Linked DNA regions of Homo sapiens: regions 1, 3, 4, 5, 6 and 7 are each linked to region 2. The links are contacts of gene promoters, found by promoter capture Hi-C in blood cells and fetal thymus (Javierre and others, 2016). All regions are on one chromosome and are shown on one strand. Each heading gives the region's core, a stretch centred on a gene start or on the middle of the fragment in contact. The rest is flanking DNA. Distances are from core to core; before and after follow the strand shown. Region 1 overlaps RNF20 (ring finger protein 20). Region 2 holds the start of SMC2 (structural maintenance of chromosomes 2). Region 3 overlaps RNF20 (ring finger protein 20). Region 4 overlaps LOC105376184 (a long non-coding RNA gene). Region 5 overlaps ZNF189 (zinc finger protein 189). Region 6 has its middle 9.0 kb from the start of RNF20. Region 7 overlaps MRPL50 (mitochondrial ribosomal protein L50).

What was found. The method cuts DNA at HindIII sites, captures the fragments that hold promoters and counts their contacts. A CHiCAGO score of 5 or more calls a contact.
Region 1: a fragment that was not itself captured here is called in contact with the fragment with the promoter of SMC2 in region 2 in 1 of 17 cell types (M0 macrophages); the score reaches 5.4 in M0 macrophages.
Region 3: a fragment that was not itself captured here is called in contact with the fragment with the promoter of SMC2 in region 2 in 1 of 17 cell types (non-activated CD4 T cells); the score reaches 15.7 in non-activated CD4 T cells.
Region 4: a contact is called between a fragment that was not itself captured here and the fragment with the promoter of SMC2 in region 2, in 1 of 17 cell types (total CD4 T cells). The highest score is 5.1, in total CD4 T cells.
Region 5: a contact is called between a fragment that was not itself captured here and the fragment with the promoter of SMC2 in region 2, in 1 of 17 cell types (activated CD4 T cells). The highest score is 5.1, in activated CD4 T cells.
Region 6: a contact is called between a fragment that was not itself captured here and the fragment with the promoter of SMC2 in region 2, in 1 of 17 cell types (total B cells). The highest score is 5.1, in total B cells.
Region 7: a fragment that was not itself captured here is called in contact with the fragment with the promoter of SMC2 in region 2 in 4 of 17 cell types (total B cells, total CD4 T cells, non-activated CD4 T cells and 1 more); the score reaches 6.8 in total B cells.

Annotation. Positions count from the first base shown.
Region 1 is chr9:101,540,502-101,544,178 of GRCh38, reverse strand. It overlaps RNF20 (ring finger protein 20), which reads right to left. Exons shown (of 20, transcript NM_019592.7): 4 at 3,542-3,677; 5 at 3,204-3,386. Among named protein-coding and RNA genes, the nearest start is that of RNF20, 8.5 kb to the right of the region's middle. The HindIII fragment of the contact is 3,161 bases long and covers 1-3,125 here.
Region 2 is chr9:104,092,342-104,095,705 of GRCh38, reverse strand. It overlaps SMC2 (structural maintenance of chromosomes 2), which reads right to left and starts at 1,397. Exons shown (of 25, transcript NM_006444.3): 1 at 1,229-1,397; 2 at 154-382. The coding sequence starts at 321. SMC2-DT (SMC2 divergent transcript) reads left to right here and starts at 3,232. Exons shown (of 3, transcript NR_121580.1): 1 at 3,232-3,364. RefSeq lists enhancers at 777-1,444, 1,663-1,982, 1,445-2,114. The HindIII fragment of the contact is 5,032 bases long and covers 1-1,830 here.
Region 3 is chr9:101,560,066-101,563,498 of GRCh38, reverse strand. RNF20 (ring finger protein 20) reads right to left here. Exons shown (of 20, transcript NM_019592.7): 17 at 2,573-2,698; 18 at 2,269-2,409; 19 at 1,488-1,589; 20 at 155-1,253. The coding sequence ends at 1,077. Among named protein-coding and RNA genes, the nearest start is that of RNF20, 28 kb to the right of the region's middle. The HindIII fragment of the contact is 1,418 bases long and covers 1,451-2,868 here.
Region 4 is chr9:101,457,797-101,461,260 of GRCh38, reverse strand. It overlaps LOC105376184 (a long non-coding RNA gene), which reads right to left. Exons shown (of 4, transcript XR_001746862.2): 4 at 2,172-2,320. Among named protein-coding and RNA genes, the nearest start is that of TMEM246-AS1, 8.9 kb to the left of the region's middle. RefSeq lists an enhancer at 1-39. The HindIII fragment of the contact is 1,717 bases long and covers 1,159-2,875 here.
Region 5 is chr9:101,408,262-101,411,685 of GRCh38, reverse strand. It overlaps ZNF189 (zinc finger protein 189), which reads right to left. Exons shown (of 3, transcript NM_003452.4): 3 at 1,032-3,424. The coding sequence ends at 2,037. Among named protein-coding and RNA genes, the nearest start is that of ZNF189, 11 kb to the right of the region's middle. RefSeq lists an enhancer at 2,843-3,424. The HindIII fragment of the contact is 1,453 bases long and covers 908-2,360 here.
Region 6 is chr9:101,523,188-101,526,432 of GRCh38, reverse strand. It overlaps a transcript of PGAP4 not described here. Among named protein-coding and RNA genes, the nearest start is that of RNF20, 9.0 kb to the left of the region's middle. RefSeq lists an enhancer at 1,569-2,068. The HindIII fragment of the contact is 3,734 bases long and covers 1-3,129 here.
Region 7 is chr9:101,390,629-101,394,333 of GRCh38, reverse strand. It overlaps MRPL50 (mitochondrial ribosomal protein L50), which reads left to right. Exons shown (of 2, transcript NM_019051.3): 2 at 3,484-3,705. Among named protein-coding and RNA genes, the nearest start is that of MRPL50, 6.1 kb to the left of the region's middle. The HindIII fragment of the contact is 477 bases long and covers 1,678-2,154 here.

The sequences.
Region 1 (3,677 bases), core at 296-2,795, 2.6 Mb after region 2:
GTAGGTAAATCCATAGAACTTATTACACCAAGTTCGTATGTTTAAAATTAGAGTTGCAAATACTATAGCTGAAATCCAAATGTAATTAAATGAAACCAGATACTCTCAGGATATATACCACCCATCAAAGAGAGTTATCAGGAAGAAAAATATGCTTTCTCATATCACCTCTTGGCATTACTCTTAGTATCAATACAGAACAGGTTGGTCATATGGTGGTTTTCATGGTTTTCAAGCTAGGCTTGCCCATCAGAATCACTTGTGGAACTTTTAAAATAGACATTTCCCTAGGACCTATCTCATACCTACTTAATAAGAACCTCCATGGGCAAAGCCAAAAATAAGAATATGCTCAGAAAACTCCCAAGGTTATTCTGATTCATAACCTGAGTTAAGAAGTAGAGACTGAATTTTAGTCCTCTCAATATCCTAAGCACTGAGGACAGGGCTAGAATACAATAAAATTCAATAAATGTTTAGTGAATTTATAAACAAGCCCATAAATGCAATTCTTTTGAATCAAAGACCAAACAAACAGACAGTACTGCCCTGGCAGGTTAGACAGTGCCGCCCTGGCAGGGTTAGACAGTGCCGCTCTGGCAGGTTAGACAGTGCCGCCCTGGCAGGTTAGACAGTTCCGCTCTGGCAGGGTTGGACAGTACTGCAGTGGCAGGGTTAGACAGTGCCACCCTGGCAGGGTTAGACAGTGCTGCCTTGGCAGGTTAGACAGTGCCGCCCTGGCAGAGTTAGACAGTGCCGCTCTGGCAGGTTAGACAGTGCCGCTCTGGCAGGTTAGACAGTGCCGCCCTGGCAGGGTTAGACAGTGCCGCCCTGGAAGGGTTAGACAGTGCCGCCCTGGAAGGGTTAGACAGTGCCGCCCTGGCACGGTTAGACAGTACTGCCGTGGCAGGTTAGACAGTGCCGCTCTGGCAGGGTTAGATGAATTTATAGACCTTACTCTATAAGGCCTATACTTGCTCTAGAAGGCCTTACCTTACTCTAGAAGGCCTATCATATCATAGGGGATTTTGTAAAACACAACACAACTCCAAACCTCCAAATAATGAATTACCCTAAATATAAAAGACTGTATAGTGTTATTGAGGAATGGCGTGGTAGAAATTCCACAGGGAATGGGGAAGTAGAAACTACTGTATTGATGATGTCCTAGGAATTTGAGGAATGTCAATTTTCAGTCTAAGTCAGGGGGATGAACTTTCAAACAAGTTACAACTGATGCTATAATTCATACTTTATACATCTTTATCTCTTAGAAAGTTCAGCTTACCAATGGCAATTGCCTTTTGTGTTACAAATAATGGCATGGCTATTTGTAATGTTTCTACTTTTTAACTTAAACCCGACCTTAAAATGCATGCCATTAAATAGTAATTTTAAAGTCGTTTGATATACTACTCATTTTATTCCCTTTTTAAATAAAACAATTGTTTCACTTGATATTCATTTATGAAATCAAGTTTAACATAGTCTATGCACATGGCATATTAATTACCATATTACTAAAATTTAACAATACCTTCTAACTATTCAATTAGAGCCCAAGGAGAAAGAAGCATATGTGCACACACAAAGCACCATTATTTTATATTAGGTGACAGGGAGGTTCACATCCATTCATTCCCCATTGACTAAACATCTGCTAGATGCCAGATGCAGTGCTAGAAACTAGAGAAACAAAGAAGAGTGAGCCAAACTACTGAACCAAGACACAGTTTAGCTGGGGACATGCAAGTAGATGTAAGATATTAATACAAAAGTACAAAAGTCTGAGAGGACATAAAACACATTGTTTAGAATGGTTATCTTTTGAGAAATGAGAATGGGGAAACTTTTGTAGTCTACTTATTTGTATTTCTGACTTGTATATTTTTAAACAAGTATCTGTTTTCCTTATAATAAAATACAGAAATGCATAATCTAATGGAAAAGCAAAAGAAACCCGTGACCAAATTTTCACAGGCCTTCTACAAGCTGCTTAATTCTGTTGACAACTTAGCCCAATTACCCTTAAAAGCAAAATTACAGAATAATACAATTCTTATATGCTCATCCAATGGTTCAACCTCCATTACATTCAACTTATTTCCTTCAGAAATGAAAGGTTAAACATCTTAATGATAAGCAGGGAAATTAAGATATTACAACTAGACCATGATTATTATTGAAAACATGAAATCAAGGCATTTTTTTTGCATTTGAGCAAGGTATTTATGCCACAAATGACTAAAGATGTAACCTAGCTACACAAATACTTTACTGTACAAATTTAAATTTTTGCATTAACTCTGAGTAACACAATTATCCCAAATAATTATTTTATTTCAAATACTCTTTCATCCATAGAATATTTTCTAATAATCCTTTTAACCATACAGATCATCTGTCAACTCTAAAACCTGCACCAACTCTTTTTAAAAACATTAGCGATAATGAAAAATAAGTTAAGTAAAAATTAACTTTTTCAAGTCAAAATTCTGTAACTAATAATTAAATAATATAGTTGTTATTTAAAATAAAGTATTATCACTATAAATCAATAGCCTACATACACGATAAACAGATCCAGATATTAGAGCTGTTTATTAAATAATAAAGTTAATTCTGCTATTTACAAAACTGTCATTAATAGAGTATATCAGTATAGAGCTGATAAACTCTTTCCTCAGCTTATTAAAGGACTGTCATGTGGCTCAAAATGAGAAGCACTGATAAAAGATTAATATGCCATAATGAAGACATTACCAGTAACACTGAAGGTTAGAATTTCTAAAAATTTAATTAAAATATATAGTCCAGGCACAGTGGCTCATGCCTGTAATCCTAACACTTTGGGAGGCCAGAAGAGAGGATCTCTTGAGGCCAAGTTTGAGACCAGCCTGGGCAACATAGCAAGACTTCCTCTCTACAAAAAGGTTAAAATATTAGCCAGGTGTGGTAGTACGTGCCTATAGTCCTAGCTATTCGGAAGCTGAGGCAGAAAGATTGCTTGAGTTCGAGGATTCAATGGGCTATGATGGTGCCACTGTGTTCCAGCCTGGGTGACACAGTGAAACCTTATCTCTTAAAAAGTAAATAATAAATAAATAAAAATAAATATGTAAGCTTGCAAACTACAAATTAGCATGCAAAAATGAATTCTTATTCCTCCTCCACTACTCCCGGCCTCCAGGGTCTTGCCTCACCTCCACTGTTTAGCTTCCGGGATAAGAGCTCCACTTTTTCTTGCAATTTATCATAAACAGTCACAATCTGGGACACGGCTCGGCGGGAAGACTCCACACGTTCCTGCAGCTGAGACTCCATCTCTTCACTGGAACTGCTGGCCAAAGTAGCAAGGAAAGAGAAAGCTGGCTCTTGCCCTTCCCCTGAGGACACAGGGGGAAAAAAAGAAGCCCCCCAAAATTATAAACTGGAAATAACAAAATCCATTTTTTTTCCCTCAAATGGAAAGCCTCAAAGCAGAGCTCTACTTTAAAAACCCAGATAGCATGCAGTGATAGAATCCATCACGAACACTTGCCTCTCTCTCGGTCATCTTTACGCTCCTGATTGCTATCAGAGTCTGGTTCTGGTTCAGGCACAACAAGGGCTTTTCGTTCTGTGAGTAGGTCTCCCAAGCCCTGCTCCAGATCATAACGTTTAAGGATGATACGGAT
Region 2 (3,364 bases), core at 148-2,647:
GAGTAATATTACTTTCCTTAAAAGGTTGCAGTGAGGTGTAATTTACAAAAAGTATAAAAACACAAATGAAGAGAATATCGGGACGTCTCCAAAGTTCAGTGAGGATTCTCCTGCCAACTTAAATTCAAATAAATCAGAAAGTTTACACTTTACCTGAGACAGGTTGGAGATGCCCAGCAAAAAGCAGATGGAGTCCAATATGTTGGATTTCCCACTACCATTTAAGCCAGTGATAGCATTGAAGAGGGGGTCAAAACCATTGACTTCGGTCCTCTGAGCATAGGACTTGAATCCCTCTAGAATAATTGACTTAATATGCATTTTCGATACTGTCTTGGGTCAGCAAACCTCTGACAGGAATCAAACAGGCCACAAACCAGTTCTGTACGAAACAGAAATACCACCACCTAAGTGGAATGTAAACCTGGAATCATAATGAACACGAGGCAAAAACAGCAACGATAGGGTGATAGAAATAAAACAGCCACTTGACAAACTATCTTGTCTGATGTAAAGACATCGTTCATCTACTCAAAAATATACCAGAGTTAGCCACTATCTGGAAATTAAACCATTCAACTGGGAAGTCTTAACTATTTCTTCTACCCGTTTTTCCAGGCTTGCCTTCTACTTTTATCATACTCTACCTAAACAAAGACTATGGATTATTACATATCCCATTATCTTTGCCTATAATGTGCTTTTCTCTGATACTGACATAGCTTACTCTCTACTGCACTCACGTCTTTGCTCAAATGTCACCTTACTGGAGTCCTCCCTGACCTCCCTATGTCACCTCTCCACAATCCTTCACTCGGCTTTCTTTTTCCTTCATGGTACTTAAAGCTGATATTAGACGGTCATTACTTGTCTGTAAGTTCCCGCAGTGTCTTCACCTACGTCCGTCATTGCATCCCCGAATTGTGCTTGACTCCGGGAGGAGGGGAAGTCATTTAAGTATTTACTAGAGATGAGATGTATCTCATATTCTCCAACTTCTTGCTTTTACTCAGGCTTTTACCTCGCTTCTCCAGGCCTGTCTACACCTCTTCGCCCTACTCCAAGGTCGAACAGAAGCTAGCCTTTATTTCTAAGGATCACCTAAGGTCCCTCTGCCACTGGTCCCCCTCCCTACAGCCCCCGCGCCCCGCGCCCCGCCTCCCGCCTCCCGCCTCCCGCCAGGAAGTCTGGCCCGGCCCAACCGGCCGTGCTCACGCACACGCCTCACCGCTGCCTCAGGCCAGGGGCTTGACGCACCCCAAAAGCTCCTCCGGGTCACAAAGGCAGGGAACAGAACAACTCTCTAGCCGGGGCCGCTACAAAGCGAACTTCACCATAGCGGCTACAACACCTGCCACACCGCTCTCAACACCCGCGCCGGAACTATTTATTCCTTTGAATTTCGGCGCGAGCAAAGGACCCCACCTCCATTGCTTATTTCCTGTGCTGGTGCCTAGGAGCTGCCTGTCTTTAGGGTTCAATTTTTCCCCTACACTCGAAGGATTAAAGCCGCAGGGCAATAGAATGAGAGTCTCGATAATGGTAGCTCCGGGGACTCCCCGGCAGGGGCCTGGGCACTACAGGAGCAGATAGTGTATGTTCACACCGGCGTCCGGCACTCTATGGTCAGCCCCACACCTCGGCCCCGGGTCCTCGCGCTTCGCCAGCCCCGCCCCGCCTCGGTCCCTCTAGTTCGCGTTAGGCACACTGCAGACTCCGCCTTCTCCAGTCTGCGGTGCTGGCTGTGGCTTACTTTTCTCTCCTCAAAGCGACAGTTAGGAAGTGGAGAGGCATTCTATGAGTGTTCTCGTCGGTTCTGTTTTGGAAGCTTCAGAATCTTCTCGGGTTGGCTCAGATTGCTGCAAAATAAAAGCTGTACTTCTTGGGGCCAGAGAGGCACCGTCCTTCGGGGGACTCTGGCCCGCGTCCTGGCTCCGCCCCGTACTGGCCTCGGACCTCGGGGAGCGTTTTTATCTGAAGTTTCCACGTCGGAAAGGGATCGTAGTCTACCGAGAGCTGTTCCGAGCCCAGAGGAGAAATTGTGTGGTGCTAAATAGCTATTCATCTCCCTTATACCGGAAAGCGTTGTAATGATAAGCCGACCTAACCTGTTGGGGATTTTTTCTGGAAACCTTTTAAGACAGTTCATGTTATTGAGTTCTGAATATTAGGCTATATTGCAAGGGGCTTTTTAAAATCCACGTAGCAACCCTATGAAATCAGAAATTGCCCTCGTTTTACAAATGAGTTAAATGAGACCAAGTAAAAGGTTAAACAGCTTGTCTAGTAAGCTGGGATTTGTTCCCAGGCGGTCTAGCTCCAGATTGCATGCTTTTAAATACTAGGCTTCATGCATAGAATCTAGTATTATTAGCCGATCCTATTATTAGTATGTATTGTTCTTTAGGAAGAAAAAACGTGTCAGGATTGCTCACGTTTCCAAGCACGTTGATACTTAAGAGTTAGGAAGGGCTTAACTCCGAATGGGTATGGTGTTACCCTAAGTGAGGTTCAAAAAGATGGTGTGGGCAACAATGCTATTTTGGAATGGCTTGATCCTTTTGGGCTTCCATAACAAAATATCCTAGACTGGGTAGTTTATGAACCACAGAAGTTTATTCTTCACATTTCTGAAGGCTGGAATGTCACAGAATAAGGTGTGTCTAGGGAGGGGTGCTTTCTCTTTAGTGGATAGCACCTTCTGGCTCTGTCCTCGCATGGTGGAGAGGCAGAGGCCCTCGCTTGGGCCTATTTTATAAGGACCTTAATCCCATTCCTCACTTCCCAAGATGCCACTTGCTAAAACCGTCAGTTCGGGAGTTAGGATTTCAAAATGTGCATTTTGAGGGACACATTTAGACCATAGCGTAGGTCATGTTTTTAAAGTTGCTTTCTTGGCCCTGGAATGGCAATGCAGTCATCTGAATTGGTCTTAACCTACCAGGAATGGGCTTATATTTTGAAAATATTTCTCGATAAGGGAGTAAAATAAGTTGTATGGGTTTTTTGTTTAAGAAAGGATTCCTTTGTTTACTCTGGTATGCTTATCCACTTCTGTGATGTCAACCATGGGTAGTGACCTAACATTAATTTAATTCAACAGATATCTTTGTCTGCCTTGATTCCTGCATCCCCTGGGCTCCACAGCTATTCACTTGTATTGATTCTGTTAACTCTTACACATTAACTTTGAGCTGTGTCTCCTTCCTTTTATCATTTTGTGAGTAAAGAATTTTAATTTGCCAACAAATCCTAATGTGGACTTTGTCACGTTGTGAAATAAAGTGATTTTTTGGTATGGAAATATGTGTTAAGACAGACTGTTAGTCTTTGCACTTTAACAACTAGCTGATACACTTACGTC
Region 3 (3,433 bases), core at 910-3,409, 2.5 Mb after region 2:
CAATTAAGCAAAGATCTAAATACTCTAAACAAGGCCAACCTCTTAACCTAAGCTGATTATTTCCATGCAAGAAAATTTAATTCTATAACAGCAGATATAAAATCAACTTGTAATAATAAAGACAAAAGTTTCAAAGAAAAACCATAAACACAAATGCAAACTGAATCCTGCTTTAATTCAAGCTTGTGGAGAACAAAGTCCTACAGAAACATTCCACAGAATTTTCTGGAAAAGAGGGATCACAACAACCCTGTAAAAAGGAGACTGAGAGTAATTCATAGCTCACCAAGTTCTCTCCGTATCAAATTTCCAGAATACCCACAAGATTTCTTCACCAGCTCAGTCCTGACTCAACCTCTTCAATCTTTATTTCATTAGAAGACAAAGGGTCATATTATTTAAAATTATTCTAGTCTCAAGAAATTTAAAGACTTGAAGTAGTAGAGCATTCAAAACTTAAATAACTTTAACAAGAAAGCCAGCTGATCTTAACAAGTTACTCTGCTAGTAAATGGGAAATAGACTGAATCATCCTAGACATAATTTCATTAGGGCTGCAAACCACCCAGGGGAGAGTAGCACAATTATACCATTTTGTAATCCACATTCACAAGAAGTTTGCTACACAAATGAAGAAAACTTTGTGCCCATAGACAACTTATTTTTTAAAATATCACTCCCCAAAAGTAGCCATGTTTCCACTTTTGTTCCCTTTTCCACATCAAAAATACCAACTTGATTTCTTCAGGAGGAATGGACAATCCAAGTTTATACAGTGGGCTGGAAAAAGAAAACACTGAAAAGTCTAAAAGCACAAAATAAACAAAGCTGGGAGGGAAGACAGTAAGAGTTATTTGTTTCTAATTCATTCTGAAACCCAAGGCTTGTATTTACCAGTCCTTTCTGCTAAAGTCATCCAGCTACTGAAGAGGAGAGCCTGGAAGTAAAGTCTGGAGGAAAGGTAGTTGACTGATAAACTGTCCTACAGGTGACAGTCAAGGAGAGAAGAGGTAGAGGTTTGGTGGTTAATGAATAAGTTCCTGACTAGCCAGCTCCTCTTCTTCTCTTGACTTAGATCAACCAATGTAGATGCGATGAAAATCATTGGCACCAAAAGCAGCATTACACTTGGGACATTTGCGCTGGCGGGTGTCATAGCGTGTCTTCACACACTCAAAGCAGAAGACATGAAAACACTTAGTAAGAACAGCATCCTTTTTACGCATGTTACAGCACGGACAGGTCAAGCGTGCCTAAAAAGAAAAGATGTCAGAGTTTGAACAACCATGAAAGTTTATGATCCAAATGGCTCTCATATACTACACAACCAAGAAGAAAACCCACAAGGCACTAAAAAAAGAGCATCATTTCCCCCCAACCTCCAAAATAAACCATTCTCTGGTTACTATCATGCAAATTATTCTCCCAGTCTATTAGGCCACTTAAAGCTTTGACAAAAAACTAATCACTAAGGCATTTTTTCTAACCTTGTAATCCTTAATCTCTTCCATCAGAATCTCATCACACTTGGGTACATTGTCTGGTTTCTTTGTGGTCTCCAGCTTCCTGCGAAGTCTAGAGATGTCCTCCTGTGGCAGGATAGCATACCCATTAGACACACTTACCCAAATCTATCATTTTTGAGAAAAATAATAGACTTGAGTTTTCTGTTGTGAAAAGAGGGGACTTTCTATCCTTTTATGGTCAATTATCTTGTAGAAATGTAGAGAACTGCAAATGGCAGGATATTTTCTTTTGTTTCAGAAGAGGCAACCATAATTATATCCCCAAATTAGAATTGCATCTATTACCAATTCAGTCCTGTGAAAACACATCTAAGAGTTTAGAGGACAGTCTATTTTGTTTTATAGTAATTAGTTTTAAGCTGAAGGTAGAACGGTTTAAAATAATTCAGAGACTTACGGATAAAGACAGAAAGACATCATGAGAAACAGCTAGCATGACAAAAATAGAGACATTATACAAGAACTTGAAAATCCTCTACTGCTGCTATGCTGTTACTTCTTTAACAATTTACTAATTCATTAATTTAACAAATATTTATTTTGTGCCTACTAGGTGCAAGGCACCATAAAAGAGTCTGAGGATATGGCAGTGAAGAAAACAGACTTACTCTCTTCCCTCAACAAACTTCCTCAAGTCTAGTAGGAAATGACATACATTGGACTAATGATTCTTTCATGATATGGGTCACTTCCGACCTCAGAAAACACCTAAAAGGTGACAAGAAAAGACAACTGCTTTTACCTGGGCTCGTTTGAAATTGAACATGTCCTTTTCTTTGGTAACACTGTTCTCCACGATCTCATCCTGAAAATCATGTAGCTTCTTCTGAGCCAACTCCAGTTGTGCTTTGAGGTCATCTGCAAGCTGGGCTGCCTCCATTGCCTATGTAGGATGTACAAATAAGTGACACCATTGTATCACCTATTATTGCCAGTGAGGCAAAATGTTAGCCCAAGTTGAAGGAATAAAGCGAACTTACAATCTCAACAGTGTTATACTTATTTGTTCCACTGAGACTAACCATCATTAGATTAATCAATCATACCTTGCGTTTATTCATCTCTAAGGCTTGGGTCCTAAGACCCAGCTCTTTCTCCCCTGTGCCAATGTTGCTCTGTAACAGATGCTCCTTCTCTTCCAGTTTCCTTACTACCTGTAGCTGGGCATCAACCTTTGAACAGAAAATCAGATTTTAACACAAATGAAAAGATTAAAAAAAGAAAAAAAACTATTCTGTTAATCTATAAGCCCACAAAATACAGTATGTTAGAAATCTCAAACTATTACTGATTTTGCCCATGAACCCTTCAAAATACATCAAGACTATGATAACTGAAAGCTTTACTTTTAATATAAAATATTGTGGAAGATTCAGTAAGAGTCTGAAAAATGACTGAAAAGATTCTTTTCCAAATTGCCAAAAATAGAGAATGCATGCTAATGCTTAAAACCTGGCAATTCATACTATAACATATAAATTAGAACTCAAACAAAAGTCCAAGAGTATTTCCTTCAGAATGGCTAGACATTCTAAAAGAGTCTTTTTTGAAATTAATGCACAAAGTAGAATCAAACAATATTAAAGTGTAAAAAGTAAAATCACAAACACCCACCTCCTAACCTCACCCACAACTCATCCCAATATGTAGAGGTAACCATTCTAACAGTTTCTCACACTGCCTTCAAAAAGCATATCAAAAAGATAGTCCACCATGATCAAGTGGGTCTCACACCAGGGATACAGGGATGGTTTGACATCCACAAGTCAATAAATCTGATACACCATATAAACAGAATTTTTAAAAAATCACATGATCATCTCAATAGATGCAGAAAAAGCATTTGACAAAATCCAGCATCCTTTTATGATTAAAACTCTAGCAAAATCAGCATAGAAGGGACATAC
Region 4 (3,464 bases), core at 768-3,267, 2.6 Mb after region 2:
CATTTTATTCTCAGTGTGATGGGAAGCTACTGGAGAGGTGATAAGTTTCTGAACCCCCCACTGAGATTCAGAAGAAACATCTTCCAAGCACAATATTGACATCAGCAGTCTTATCTAATCTCCTCTACGGCAAACGGTTAGATTCCCTCTATCAGCCACGAAAGATAAAAGTACGAAGAACACTATACTGTGCTAGAAATCAATGAAAAGGGTCAGTCACATGCTACAGACAGGGGAATTTTTGCAAGATACAATACAGATGAGATTAGTTTGAAAAAGTGGCCAGTCCTATCTATTACAACTCAGTCAGAAGAAGGAACAGCTAACCAAGAAGTGGACCCCAGCAGAACCCACCTATTTACTCAGGGGCTAGGGTCAGAGATGAGGTGAAGCAAGAGATGATATGGGGGTATATCTGGATCCCCCCAACAACTCTGCAACAGTTTACTTGATAACCGAAGTCATACCAAGCAGGATCCTTCAGTGTCATTTACTGCCAATGTGCCTTTGACAAGGATAAATATGCCTGGCAAATATCCGGGGTGCTACCTTGTCTGGTATCTAACAAGGCAAACCTTGCCATGCAAAGAATAAAGGCATAGACCCAGTTACTTTCTAATTACACAGCAAACAAAAAAATGAAGCTCTTTAGTATACAAGTGAATTTCCTAGCCACAACTACCTCAGGAACTGGTGGTTTCCACACTATCCCCAGTTTGATACCCGAAGTAACAAAGAAAAACAACTTAAAAATCAAAATTGTCTATATAGCCTTCATTTAGACATCACAAAAACTCTGAGAGATTACATTTTAACTTTCCATGTGAGGCAATCAGAAACTATCCTGGCCGGGCGCGGTGGCTCACGCCTGTAATCCCAGCACTTTGGGAGGCCGAGGCGGGCGGATCACGAGGTCAGGAGATCGAGACCATCCCGGCTAAAACGGTGAAACCCCGTCTCTACTAAAAATACAAAAAATTAGCCGGGCGTAGTGGCGGGCGCCTGTAGTCCCAGCTACTTGGGAGGCTGAGGCAGGAGAATGGCGTGAACCCGGGAGGCGGGGCTTGCAGTGAGCCGAGATCCCGCCACTGCACTCCAGCCTGGGCGACAGAGCGAGACTCCGTCTAAAAAAAAAAAAAAAAGAAACTATCCTAAGCTTACTTCTTTAAGAGTGTGCAAATGGGAGCATTTATAGGTGATACAAAGAGATAAAAAAGAAGAGCATCGATCTATCAGAGAAATATCTTCCCATGAAATACAGTTGCTACAACAAATAAGAGAAATTTTAGAAAATTCCAAATCAAGTTTTTGCCAGATTCAAGAGGACTCTGAGCCAGGTGTGTGTGGCTCATGCTTGTAATCCCAATGCTTTGGGAGGCTGAAGTGGGAGGATCACTTGAGCCCAGGAGTAAGAGGCTGCATTGAGCCATGATGATCACACCACTGCACTGGGTGACAGAGCAAGACCCTGTCTAAAAAAACAAACAAAAAAAACTTCAAGAGGACCTTGAAACTTCAAATCGAGAGCACATAGTCATGAAACATTAATGAAAAAAAAAAAATCTAGAACCATCTGTTGGTTGTAGTGAATTTGATAAGCCTGTCTGGATCAAATTTCTTAATCCTATCCTGCCACCTCCTTTCAATACCTTGAAAAACGCCACCGTTTAGAGTATGTGCACAAGTGACAAGTTATGGTCCCGAATCATGATCTCATCCATCCTTGTGAGCTAGGTTGGACTGAATGTCTTGAGCCCAAATGAGTCCTCTTCCTGCCCATGGGGCTTCCTTCACTCTGGTTCTTCCTTAGTCTTCTAAGTGGAGGGAGCAACATTTTTAACTGGGAGGGATAACCCAATGTCTTTCCATAGAACCAGCTTCACGGGAGCAAAGGAAGACGCCATTCAATAGAAAATACCTAACAAGAAAGAACTCCAAGATCAAGTGGCATTGGAGCATTTATCCTAACACAGTTCAACTTATCTATCTACATACACCCTTCTCACTGGAAGTACTGATTCCATTCAGATATCAAAGGAGAAAGCCTTGAGCTCCCCCTAGAGAACAAAGCATGTAGCCAGTATTTCCTGATCTTAGCTCTCTGTAGGCTTCACAAGTCTTGCCTCCCCTTCTCTGAAAGAGGCACTGGCGCCTCTTACTGCCTTGGGCACACGTCTTTACAGTACTTACCGCATTGTGCTATTTGTTGCAGCTCCTCATTCCCTTTCACATGTGAGCCTCTTGACGGCAATCAGACTGTCATTAGGTTTTCTCTTCTATCCCTTAAAATGGTGTCTGGTGCAAAGCGGGCCCTCAGCAACTATGTTTGTTAGGGAAATAAAGCATTCAGGAGAAACAAAAAATATTAACATTCCTGGAATGTTAATATTTTGTCTTTCAGTGCTCAGTTATTTCTCCTGCTTTCTTTTCTACTTCTTTACTCCACCACATATTATAACTAGCAACTTACATAGCCCTTGTTCATGCAATATGACACTGAATCCTACAATTCTATGGGAATAGAATTTCCCTTTTACTCTTACTAGAAAAGAAAATGGACATTCAAACAGGTGAAGTGAGCTGCTTAAGGTCACATAGCCAGGAAGTATTAGAACAAAGAAACAAAGCCAGGTTTTTCTGACCAGATTTCATGATCAACTAGGTGACTTTACTGTGTTCCTTTGGATTTTTACCAGCTTTAGCCTTAGTTTGTCTGCAACCGCCACACATGCACACTGCATACACAGTATACACACATGCACACTGCACATAAATTAGCAAAATGAAGATAACTTCTTCTGGCTCTCCCTTCTTTCTGCTTTATAACATGATCACTGATTGTAAAGCATTCAAACAATATACTCATTCTCAAGCTTGATTGCACATTGAATCATCTGGGTAATTTAAAAAATTACTAGAACCTGGGTTCACTTCCAGTAGTTCTGACTTAATTTGTCTAGAGTGGGCTGAGCATTCAGATTTTTCATAGGTTGTTAATGTACTAAGTTGAGAACCACTGCAATACAGAAAACTGTAAATAATTTTTTAAAAATCTGTAATTCCTTGGCCAGGCGCAGTGGCTCATGCCTGTAATTGCAGCAATTTAGGAGGCCAAGGCGGGCAGATCACTTGAGGTCAGGAATTTGAGACCAGCCCAGCCAACATCGTGAAACCCTGTCTCTACTAAAACATACAAAAATTAGCCGGGCGTGGTAGTGCGCGCCTGTAATCCCAGCTACTCAGGAGGCTGAGGCAGGAGAATTGCTTGAACCTGGGAGACGGAGGTTGCAGTGAGCCGAGATCATGCCACTGCATTCCAGCCTGGGCGATAGAGCAAGACTCAGTCTCAAAAAAAATTCTGTAATTCCACCACTCTGAGATGATCACCATAGTTAATATTTTGGTGAATTTATCTTCTCTTTACATTGAAGCATACATCCAGTGTTACAAAAAAGGGATAACAT
Region 5 (3,424 bases), core at 385-2,884, 2.7 Mb after region 2:
CAACCTACAGAATGGAAGAAAATTTCTGCGATGGCACTATGCAGAATGACACCATGGCACATGTATACCTATGTAACAAACCTGCACATTCTGCACATGTATCCCAGAACTTAAAGTATAATTTTAAAAAAATGATTTTTTAGGGTTCTATGTTTTTTATAAGCAATGATGTGTATATGCAGTCAAGAACTGTTCACTGTTACTGGAGTTCTGAGTTGTCCAAGGATTTTAAAATTAAGAAATTTCTATAAATTCCAGATTCATGTCCAAGGATATTAAAAATTATGTAGGACTACCTCATACAACCATAGCCTCAAACTACTATGAGGTCAACAGCAGCCAGTGCTTCTGCTATGGAATATAACCGTACATGAAACTGATGTGACTTCAACAAAAAGCAAAGAAATGTGTTTCAGTGTACATGCAGTGAAAACATACACAATAGATTTTTAAAATACTGAGAACAGGTCTAAGAACCTCATTAGTTGAGATCCTGATCTGGGAACCACTAGTGTAAAATAAGTACAACTGGGAAGGTCCAGGGCAGGAAAATTTTATATGAGTCAGGTGCAGTATGTTGTTTTTTGTACTTTTCCTTGGACTACAAATTGTTTTGAAATGTCAACTGTATAGTAACTATGAGTACCTAATTTGAATAAGGGAGTGCACAAAGATATGTATCTTTCTATACATGTACCATAATCTCCACACTCACATGCAGGTACACACATAAAGAGATGGGAAGATGAAAGTCTGGAGGTAATTTTTGGAATGACTGAGGTACAGGAGAAGGAGGGGTCATTTGCTCAAACTATTAGGAAGCTGGAATTACAGAATTCTGCTAATTTGGAATTCTATACTCAGAAACTGAAGAACCTGGGCTTAATTGAGCTACTCCAGAAAAGCTTAACTAGTCACACACAGAACAAATGACAGCTATTTCCTTCCTATTTTTGATTCTAATTTTAAAAACACAGTAATGCGTTTGACAGAATTGGTTTTACACTAAAGTAACAACTCTTACACAAAGCTAAAAACAAAACAGGTTTTAATGGTTAAAACAGATGAATTAATAGGTTTATAATAACCATTAACTAAGGGAAGCCCTAGAACAAGAAATAAGGATTTTTAATTGCATGCAAAACCTAGTTACCATAAAAACCAATGCAATACCAAAATATCTCAGCTTCCTAGCATAGACTCCAGGTCTTTTCATTTCCAATACTTGGCAGTCATAATATGTACACTTTCATATGCACCTGGTTGTGGAGGGATAAGCTCATTCACATAGGACTACAAATATCTCTCACAGGTAGGAGGGCACAAAAGAACAATATCTTCCTCCACTTTTTTGGGTCCATCTTGAAAAACAAAAAAGGCACTCCCAAAGGTTCCTTGGTAACACCTTTGTTAGGTTTCTTAATTACTAACATAATCTTTACATGTAAGGTTAATGGTCCACTCATTTCATAGATCTGGGAACCATCAGGCATTGGAACTGCCTTTAACTCACATGCCAAACAACTGGCTTTCTTAAACAATGACAAAAACTGTATACTTGTTTTAAAAACATTTGGGCTTTGTTTCCTTGACAACTTATATATGCTTAATCACTGGACTTTGGCATGCAGAGCCAAACATATCATGGAACTGAAAGAACCACAATATGACATGGTGACAGAAGACTCTTTGAATCATTATTCTGTTTTCCACTATCAGCTGCTCCAGCTCCCTTATACTAATCCAACTTTGTCCCTCAGAGCACCCATGCTCTGAACCTAGGTTTAATCTCTCTGCTGAAAGATTTATTAAAGATACTTAGATAAATTACCAAGTCTTTCTCTACGATCATCAAAGAGTAAGGGAAGTCAAATGCTCATGGGCAGTTGTCCACTATTCACAGAATCTTTAGAAACTATTTGCCTGAGGCCAAGGAGAATTTGCTTTATCACTAAATCTGACCCATGTTGAGCCATACTAAAACTGCACTTGGGTACTAGTCTCAAATCAAATTGAGCTTATGTATTGCTCTACATTTATTGCATCCATGCTGTGTGCAATTTCTGATGCTGAATAAGAGAAATACGGCAATTAAAGGCTTCACCACAAGCGTCACATTCATGGGTTTCTTGGGTTTTCACCTCTGCATGGATCTTCTGATGGTTGACAAGACTGCGCTGTTGACTGAAACTTTTGTCGCACTTCTCACACTTATAAGGTTTCTCTCCTGTGTGTATTCTCTGATGCTGAATAAGACCCGAGTTCCGGCTAAAGGCCTTTCCACATTCATCACATTTATGGGGTTTATTACCTGTGTGAACACCCTGATGTCGAATAAGATTACAAAGCTGACTAAAGCTTTTTCCACACTGTCTGCACAGATAGGGTCTCTCACCAGTGTGGATTCTCTGATGTTCAATAAGAAATGAGCTCCGGCTGAAGCTTTTCCCACAGACAGTACATAGATAGGGCTTTTCACCAGTGTGGATTCTTTGATGTTGTACAAGATGAGCACTAACACTAAAAGTTTTCCCACATTCATCACATTTATAAGATTTCTCCTTAGGGTAGACTTCCTGCTGTATAACAAGACTGCAATTTGGATCAAAACTTTCCTTAGTTTCATTGTATGGATAAGTCTTCTCCCTGGTGTGAATTCTCTGATGCTGAATAAGACCTGAGCTTCTACTAAAGGCTTTTCCACATTCCTCACATTTATGGGGCTTGTCTCCTGTGTGAATTCTCTGATGACGAGTAAGGTTGCAAAGCTGACTGAAACTTTTCCCACACTCTTTGCACTGATAAGGTCTTTCACCAGTATGGATCCTCTGATGTTCAATAAGGAATGAGCTCCGACTGAAACTTTTTCCACACTCAATACAAAGAAAAGGCTTCTCGCCAGTGTGAATTTTTTGGTGTTGTATAAGGTATGTGCTTAATCGAAAGGCTTTCCCACATTCACCACATTTATGGGGTCTTTCCCCAGTGTGAATTCTTTGATGCTCAACAAGCAATGAATTTCGACTAAAGCTCTTCTTACATTTGGTACAGTGATAAGGTTTCTCACCAGTGTGAGTTCTTTGATGCTCAATAAGGTGTGATTTCCAACTGAAGGCTTTCCCACAGTCACTACATTTATGGGGTTTCTCACCTGTATGAATCCTTTGATGTTTAACAAGGCTCCTTCTCTGGCTGAAGCTCTGTTTACACTGATTACACTGATAGGGTCTTTCTCCAGTGTGGATTCTCTGATGTCTAATAAGGGTTGAGCTCACACTAAAGGTTTTTCCACAGTAATTACACTCATAGGGCCTTTCCCCAGTGTGAATTCTCTGATGTTCAATAACAAATGAACTGCGACTAAAACTTTTCCCACATTCATTGCACTGAAAAGGTTTCTCACCAGTATGGACCCTTTGATGTT
Region 6 (3,245 bases), core at 13-2,512, 2.6 Mb after region 2:
AAGTACTGGATGCCAGGGTAATAGAGATTTCAATAGTACAGGGAGAAAGATACTTTTAATGGACTATGTCCAAACCATGCAGCAAATTTTGACATTACATTGACATTTCAAATATTCAGTTAACCTTGAAGACTATTCCCTTTCTCTTTTTCTTATTTGTGCTTGCTTTTATTAATAATCTAATAATTATGTGGGTAGCCACTTACAACAGAGTGATGGCCAAGGCTAATTAGATCAGTGTGTTTGAAATGTGATCTTAACATTTAGAAGAACAGCAAGGAGATGTGTTGCTTCAAGCTGTTAAATGCTAAAATATGTGAAGTACTGAACATCTTGTTTTGTATTTTTTTCTTCTTATGAAAACTGTCCTTTTATAAATAAATGTCAATTTGTACCAAAAGCCTAAACTATGTCATACCCAATGATTCAGCTATTCCAGGTTTGATTATATGCTTGAAAAAAATAGAATCACATACTTGTTTAAATATGACTGTACAAAAATGTTTAACATAGCATTATTTATTACTTAAAATTTTTAGAATCAATTTGTATAAATCATGAAATGTCCTCGAATATAGAATTCTATGTAGTCATTAAAGTTGTGATATAGATTTGTATTTCTTAACACTGAAATATAAGAATATGTTGTTGAATGGGATAAGTCGGTTTCAGGAATATATGCATAACATTTATTTTCTCTCTCTCTCTCTCTTTTTTTTTTTTTTTTTTTTTTGAGACGCTCTGTTGCCGAGGCTGGAGTGCAATGGCGCAATCTTGTCTCACTGCAAGCTCCGCCTCTCGGGTTCAAGTGATTCTCTCTTCCTTAGCTTCCTGAGTAGCTGAGATTACAGGCACCTGTCACCACACCTGGCTAATTTTTGTATTTTTAGTAGAGACAGGGTTTCGCCATGTTGGCCAGGCTGGTCTCGAACTCCCGACATCAGGCAATCTGCCCACCTCGGCCTCCCCAAGTGCTGAGATTACAGGCATGAGCCACTGCGCCCGCCAACATTTATTTTCATAGGAAAAAAAAAACATTTAAAACCAACGTATTACCAATTTTAGACGTACACAAATTGTCTCCACTTGTAGTCTCTGCTTCCTCATCTCCTATTCACTCTATTCTCTAAATGAAATATTTCAGCTATTTACGTGTAAATAAATATGAAGGGGGTTTAATATGTAAACTAAATAGCAAGCACAAACCTAGCTATTTAAAGAGAGGGCTTACTTTAGAAAGCAGTTTGGAGATTTCTCAAAGAACTTAAAAAACAACTACTATTTGACCCAGCAATCCCATTACTGGGAATCTACCCAAAGGAAAACAAATTGTTCTACCAAAAAGACATGCACTCGTATATTCACTGGTACACAATTCACAATAGCAAAGACATGGAATCAACCCAAGTGCTCATGAACGAAGGACTGGAGATAGCAATCATCAGGGCAGATGGGAGGCAGGACTAGATTGCCGCTCCGGACAGAGCAGCGTGTGGGAGCTCGCATTATGAATTTTAGCTCCAGATCGACTACAAGAACAAACCAGCAATCCCGAGAGGACCCACAGACCCTCTGAAGGAAGCGGACTACTCCTGCAGGACCCAGGAGAGCCCCCTAAAACTGTGAGTGCCCCAACTGTGGAAGTAAGAAAGGGAGGCCCTCTTCTCCTGAACACATACCCTCACTGAAGAAGCTGAAAGTCTGTTTGTGGAAGAAGTTTTTGACTTTACCTGGAGCTGAGTCAAGTTAGCCAAGTGAAATACAGGGGTAGAGGAAGCAGCAGTAAGGCCCTGGGAGCTCACGGGGTCCCCCAGCAGCCCATTCCTGGCTGGCACCACAGGGATCCATCGGGAGAGTAGACAGAGGAGCAGGGGCTAAAACTCCACAGGGAGAAAGAAATCTCTAGCTGAATTTTGTAACAATTTGAATGGGGTGAGAAGCCTCGTGGCCAGAACTCAGGGCAGGGCAAATCTGGTGTGCAGACTCACAGGCTGAGAAGGAACGAAGCCCTTTTCTTTCGCAGCTGGGAGGTAGATAGCCTGGGGCCGGTTTTCAAGCCATATAGCCCTCCACCTGGAAACAGACTGGGGCTGTTGGCAGAGGACACAGTGGGAGTGAGACCAGCCCTTCGGTTTGCATGGGAGCTGGGTGAAGCCTGTGACTGCCAGCTTACCGCCACTTACCTGACAACCTGCATGACTCAGCAGAGGCATCCATAATCCTCATAGGTACATAACTCCACTGATCTAGTGTGCTAAGGACCCTCACGGAGTCCATTGCACACCCGCCCCCCAACCTCCACCAGAAAAGGCGCTAGTGTCCATGACTGAGAGACCCATAGACAGTTCACATCACAGCACTCTTGTGCAGACAACCCCCAGTACCAGCCCGGAGCTGGGTAGACTCGCTGGGTGCCTAGACCCAGAAGAGAGATAACAATCACTGCAGTTCGGCTTGTAGGAAGCCACATCCATAGGAAAAGGGGGAGAGTACTACATCAAGGGAACACCCCATGAGACAAAAGAATCTGAACAATAGCCTTCCACCCTAGACCTTGCCTCTGACAGAGCCTACCCAAATGAGAAGAAACCAGAAAACCAACCCTGGTAATATGACAAAACAAGGCTCTTCAACACCCCCAAAAAATCACACTAGTTCACCAGCAATGGATCCAAACCAAGAATAAATTCCTGATTTACCTGAAAAAGAATTCAGGAGGTTAGTTATTAAGCTAATCAGGGAGGGACCAGAGAAAGGCGAAGCCCAATGCAAGGAAATCCAAAAAAAAAAAAAAAAAAAAAAAAAAAAAAAAAGATACAAGAAGTGAGGGGAGAAATGTTCAAGGAAATAGATAGCTTAAAGAAAAAAAAACAATGAAAAATTCAGGAAACTTTGGACACATTTTTAGAAATGTGAAATGCTCAGGAAAGTCTCAACAATAGAATTGAACCAAGTAGAAGAAAGAAACTCAGAACTCAAAGAAAAGGTGTTCAAATTAACCCAATCCAACAAAGACAAAGAAAAAAGAAAAATATGAACAAAGCCTCCAAGAAGTCTGGAATTATGTTAAATGACCAAAACTAAGAATGAATAATCAGTGTTCTGAGGAAGAAGAGAATTCTAAAAGCTTGGAAAATATATTTGGGGGAATAATCAAGGAAAACTTTCCTGGCCTTGCTAGAGACCCAGAAATCCAAACACAAGAAGCACAAAGAACACTCAGGAAATTCATCGCAAGTCATCAG
Region 7 (3,705 bases), core at 667-3,166, 2.7 Mb after region 2:
AAAATATCTCAAGCACTGACCTTGAATTTTACAATAGCAGTGTTATCCCAGGAGCAATTTGGGGAGGATCAGACTCTTGCAGCCGGAGTCTGAATGACCCCTAACCATAATTTCTAATCTTGTAGCTAATTTGTTAGTCCTACAAAAGCAAACTGGTTCCCAGGCAAGAGGGAGGTCTTTTCAGAAAAAGGCTATTACCAATTTTGTTTCAGAGTCAAACTGTAAACTCATTTCCTTCCCAAGGTTAGTTTGGCCTATGCCCAGGAATGAACAAGGACAGCTTAAAGGTTAGAAGCAAGGTGGGGTCAGTTAGGTGTGGTCTTTTTTTTTTTTTTTTTTTTTTGCTTAGCATTACTTTGGCTATTCAAGGCATTTTGTGGTTTCATACGAATTTTAGGATTTTTTTTTCTATTTCTGTGAAGAACGTCATTGGTATTTTGATAAAGATTACATTGACAGTATATCGCTTTGGGTAGCATAAGCATTTCAACAACATCAATTCTCCCAATCCATGAACGTGGGATATCTCCATTTTTTGTGTGTCCCCTTCAATTTTTTTCATCAGTGTTTTATAGTTTTTATTGTAGAGACCTTTTACTTCTTTGTTGAAGTTTATTCCTAGATTTTTTGTGTGTGTGGCTATTGTTAATGGAATTGATTTCTTGATTTCTTTTTCAGATTGTTTACTATTGGCATATGGAAATGCTACTGATTTTGTATGTTGATTTTTGTATTCTGAAACTTTACTGAATTTATAATTTCTAAGAGTTTTTTTGGTGGATATTTAGGTTTTTCTAAATACAAGATCATATATCAACAAGATATATAAGATCATATATCTTACGTATGATACATAAGATCATATATCTTACGTATGATACGTAAGATCATATATCAAATAAGAACAATTTGACTTCTTTTCAATTTTGATGTACTTTATTTCTTTCTCTTGTCTAATTGCTGTGGCTAGGACTTCAAGTTCTGTGTTGAATACAAGTGATGAAAGTGAGCATCCTTGTCTTGTTCAAGATCTTAGAGGAAAGGCTTTGAGTTTTTTCCCATTCAATGATGCTAGCTTGTTTTGTGTCCTTGTTTGGTGGGTTTGTCATGCATGACCTTTATTATGTTGAGGTATGTTCCTTCAGTATCCAGTTTATTGAGAGTTTTTATCATGAAAGGATGTTGAAATGTATGAAATGCTTTTTCAGCATCTATTGAAATGATCACATGATTCTTGTTCTTGATTCTATCAATGTGATGTATCGAATTTGTTGATTTGCATATGTTGAACCATTCTTGCATTCTGGGATGAATCCCACTTGATCATGGTGAATGATCATTTTAATGTGTGGTTTAATTCTGCTTGCTAATGTTTTGTTGAGGGTTTTTGCATCTGTGCTCATCAGGAATATTGAACTGTAGTTTTCCTTTTTTATTTTGTCTTTGTCTGATTTTGGTATCGGGGTAATGCTGGTCTTGTAGAATGTGTTTTCCTTTTTTATTTTGTCTTTGTCTGGTTTTGGCCTCAGGGTAATGCTGGCCTTGTAGAGTGTGTTTGGAAGTATTCTCTCCTCTTCAGTGTTTTGGAATAGCTGTGGTAGAATTCGTATTGATTGGCATTAGTTCTTCTTTAAATGCTTGCTAGAGTTCAGTAGTGAAGCCATCAGGTCTTAAGCTTTTCTTTGATGGGAGACTTTTATTACAGCCTCTTTCTCATTATTTCTGTTTGGGTTTTCTTTTTCTTCGTGATTCAATCCTGGTAAGTTGTCCGTGTCTAGGAATTAATCCATCTCTTCTAGGTTTTCCAATCTATTGACTTATAGTTGCTTGTAACAATCTCTAATTAGCCTTTAAATTTTTGTGATATCAGTGTAATATCTCCTTTTTTGCCTCTGATTTTATGTATTTGTGTCTTCTCTGTTTTTTTTAGTCTAGCTAAAGGTTTGTTGATTTTAACTTTTCAATAAACCAACTTTTTAATTCATTGATCTTTTTATTGCTTTTTTAGTCTATTTTATTTATTTCTACACTGATCTTATTTCTTTCCTTCTACTAATTTTGGATTTGGTTTGTCTTTTTCTAATTTAAGGTACATCTTTAGATTGTTTATGTGAAGTTTTTCTTTTTTCATGTAGATGTTTATTACTATAAGCTTCCCTCTTACTACTGCTTCTGCTGTATCGCATAGGTTTTGATGTGTTGTGTTTTCATTTTTATTGCTTCAAGACGTTTTAAAATTTCCTTCCTAATTTCATCATTGACTCATTGGTCATTTGGGAGCATGTTATTTTTTATGTAGTTGTATAGTTTCTAGAGTTCTTGTTATTGATTTCTAGTTATATTTCATTGTCGTTAGAAAAGTCCTTGATATGATTTTGAGTTTTATGAATTTGTTAAAACTTGTTTTGTGTTCTATGATACAGTCTACCCTGGAGAATGTACCATGTACTCATGAGAAGAATATGTATTCTGCAGCAGTTGGGTGAAATGTTCTCTAAGTGTCAAGTCCATTTGGTGTAGAATGTAATTCCAGTCTTTCTTTGTTGATTTTGTCTGGATGATCTGTCTGTTATTGAGAGTGGGTGTTGAAATCCACAACCATTAATGTATTGTAGTCTATCTCTTCCTTTAGATCTATTAATATTTGTGTTATGTGTTTAGGTTCTCCAATATTGGTTGCATATATATTTATAATTGTTATATGCTTTTGCTGAATTGACCTCATTATGATTATGTAATGACCTTCTTTATCTCTTATAGTTTTTGACTTGAAATTTATTTTATCTGATATAAGTATAGCTACTCCTGTTCTTTTTGGTTTCTGTTTGCATGGAATATCTTTTTCCATCTCTTCACTTTCTGTGAAGTAGAATGTAAGTAAAATTAAAAGTCAGGTAGGATGTGATACACTCTGAGAGCAGTATAAACTGCTGAAGAGATCACATGAAATCACAATTATATTTGATTCTGGAAATTAGGTAAAGCATCTTGGAAGAGAACAATTTTATCCTAAGACTTACAGAATAAGCAAGATTTCCATAGGTGAAGATAAAAGACAGGCATTTTAAGATATGACTTGAGCCAACACATTGTGTCAGGAAAGTGGGAGTGTGCTTGGGACACAGGATATAGAGTATCACATGGAGTATATGTAGGTAATCAGTGAAAGGTAAGACCAGAAAGGTAGATTGGGGTGGGATCTTGGAGGATGGGGAATCCCAGACAATGATTTACCTTACTTCTTCACCCATTCTTAGGAATTCTTACAGTATGTAAAATATGTACTTAGTTTCTTTCTGTCTCTCCCAACTCAGTTCAACCATGAACGTTCTAAGGGCAGGGGCCTACCATATTCTTTCCTACTCTCAGTAGTCCCCAGTGGTAATCAGCATGCCATTGTTGATTTTGATTGGTAGGCAAGATTTGGTCTGGTGTTTGTCAACTTCATTAATGGATTTGTCTGTTTGTTTTTGATCATTCCAGAAAAGAGAAAGAGCCAGTGGTTGTTGAGACAGTAGAAGAGAAAAAGGAACCTATCCTAGTGTGTCCACCTTTACGAAGCCGAGCATACACACCACCTGAAGATCTCCAGAGTCGTTTGGAATCTTACGTTAAAGAAGTTTTTGGTTCATCTCTTCCTAGTAATTGGCAAGACATCTCCCTGGAAGATAGTCGTCTAAAGTTCAATCTTCTGGCTCATTTAGC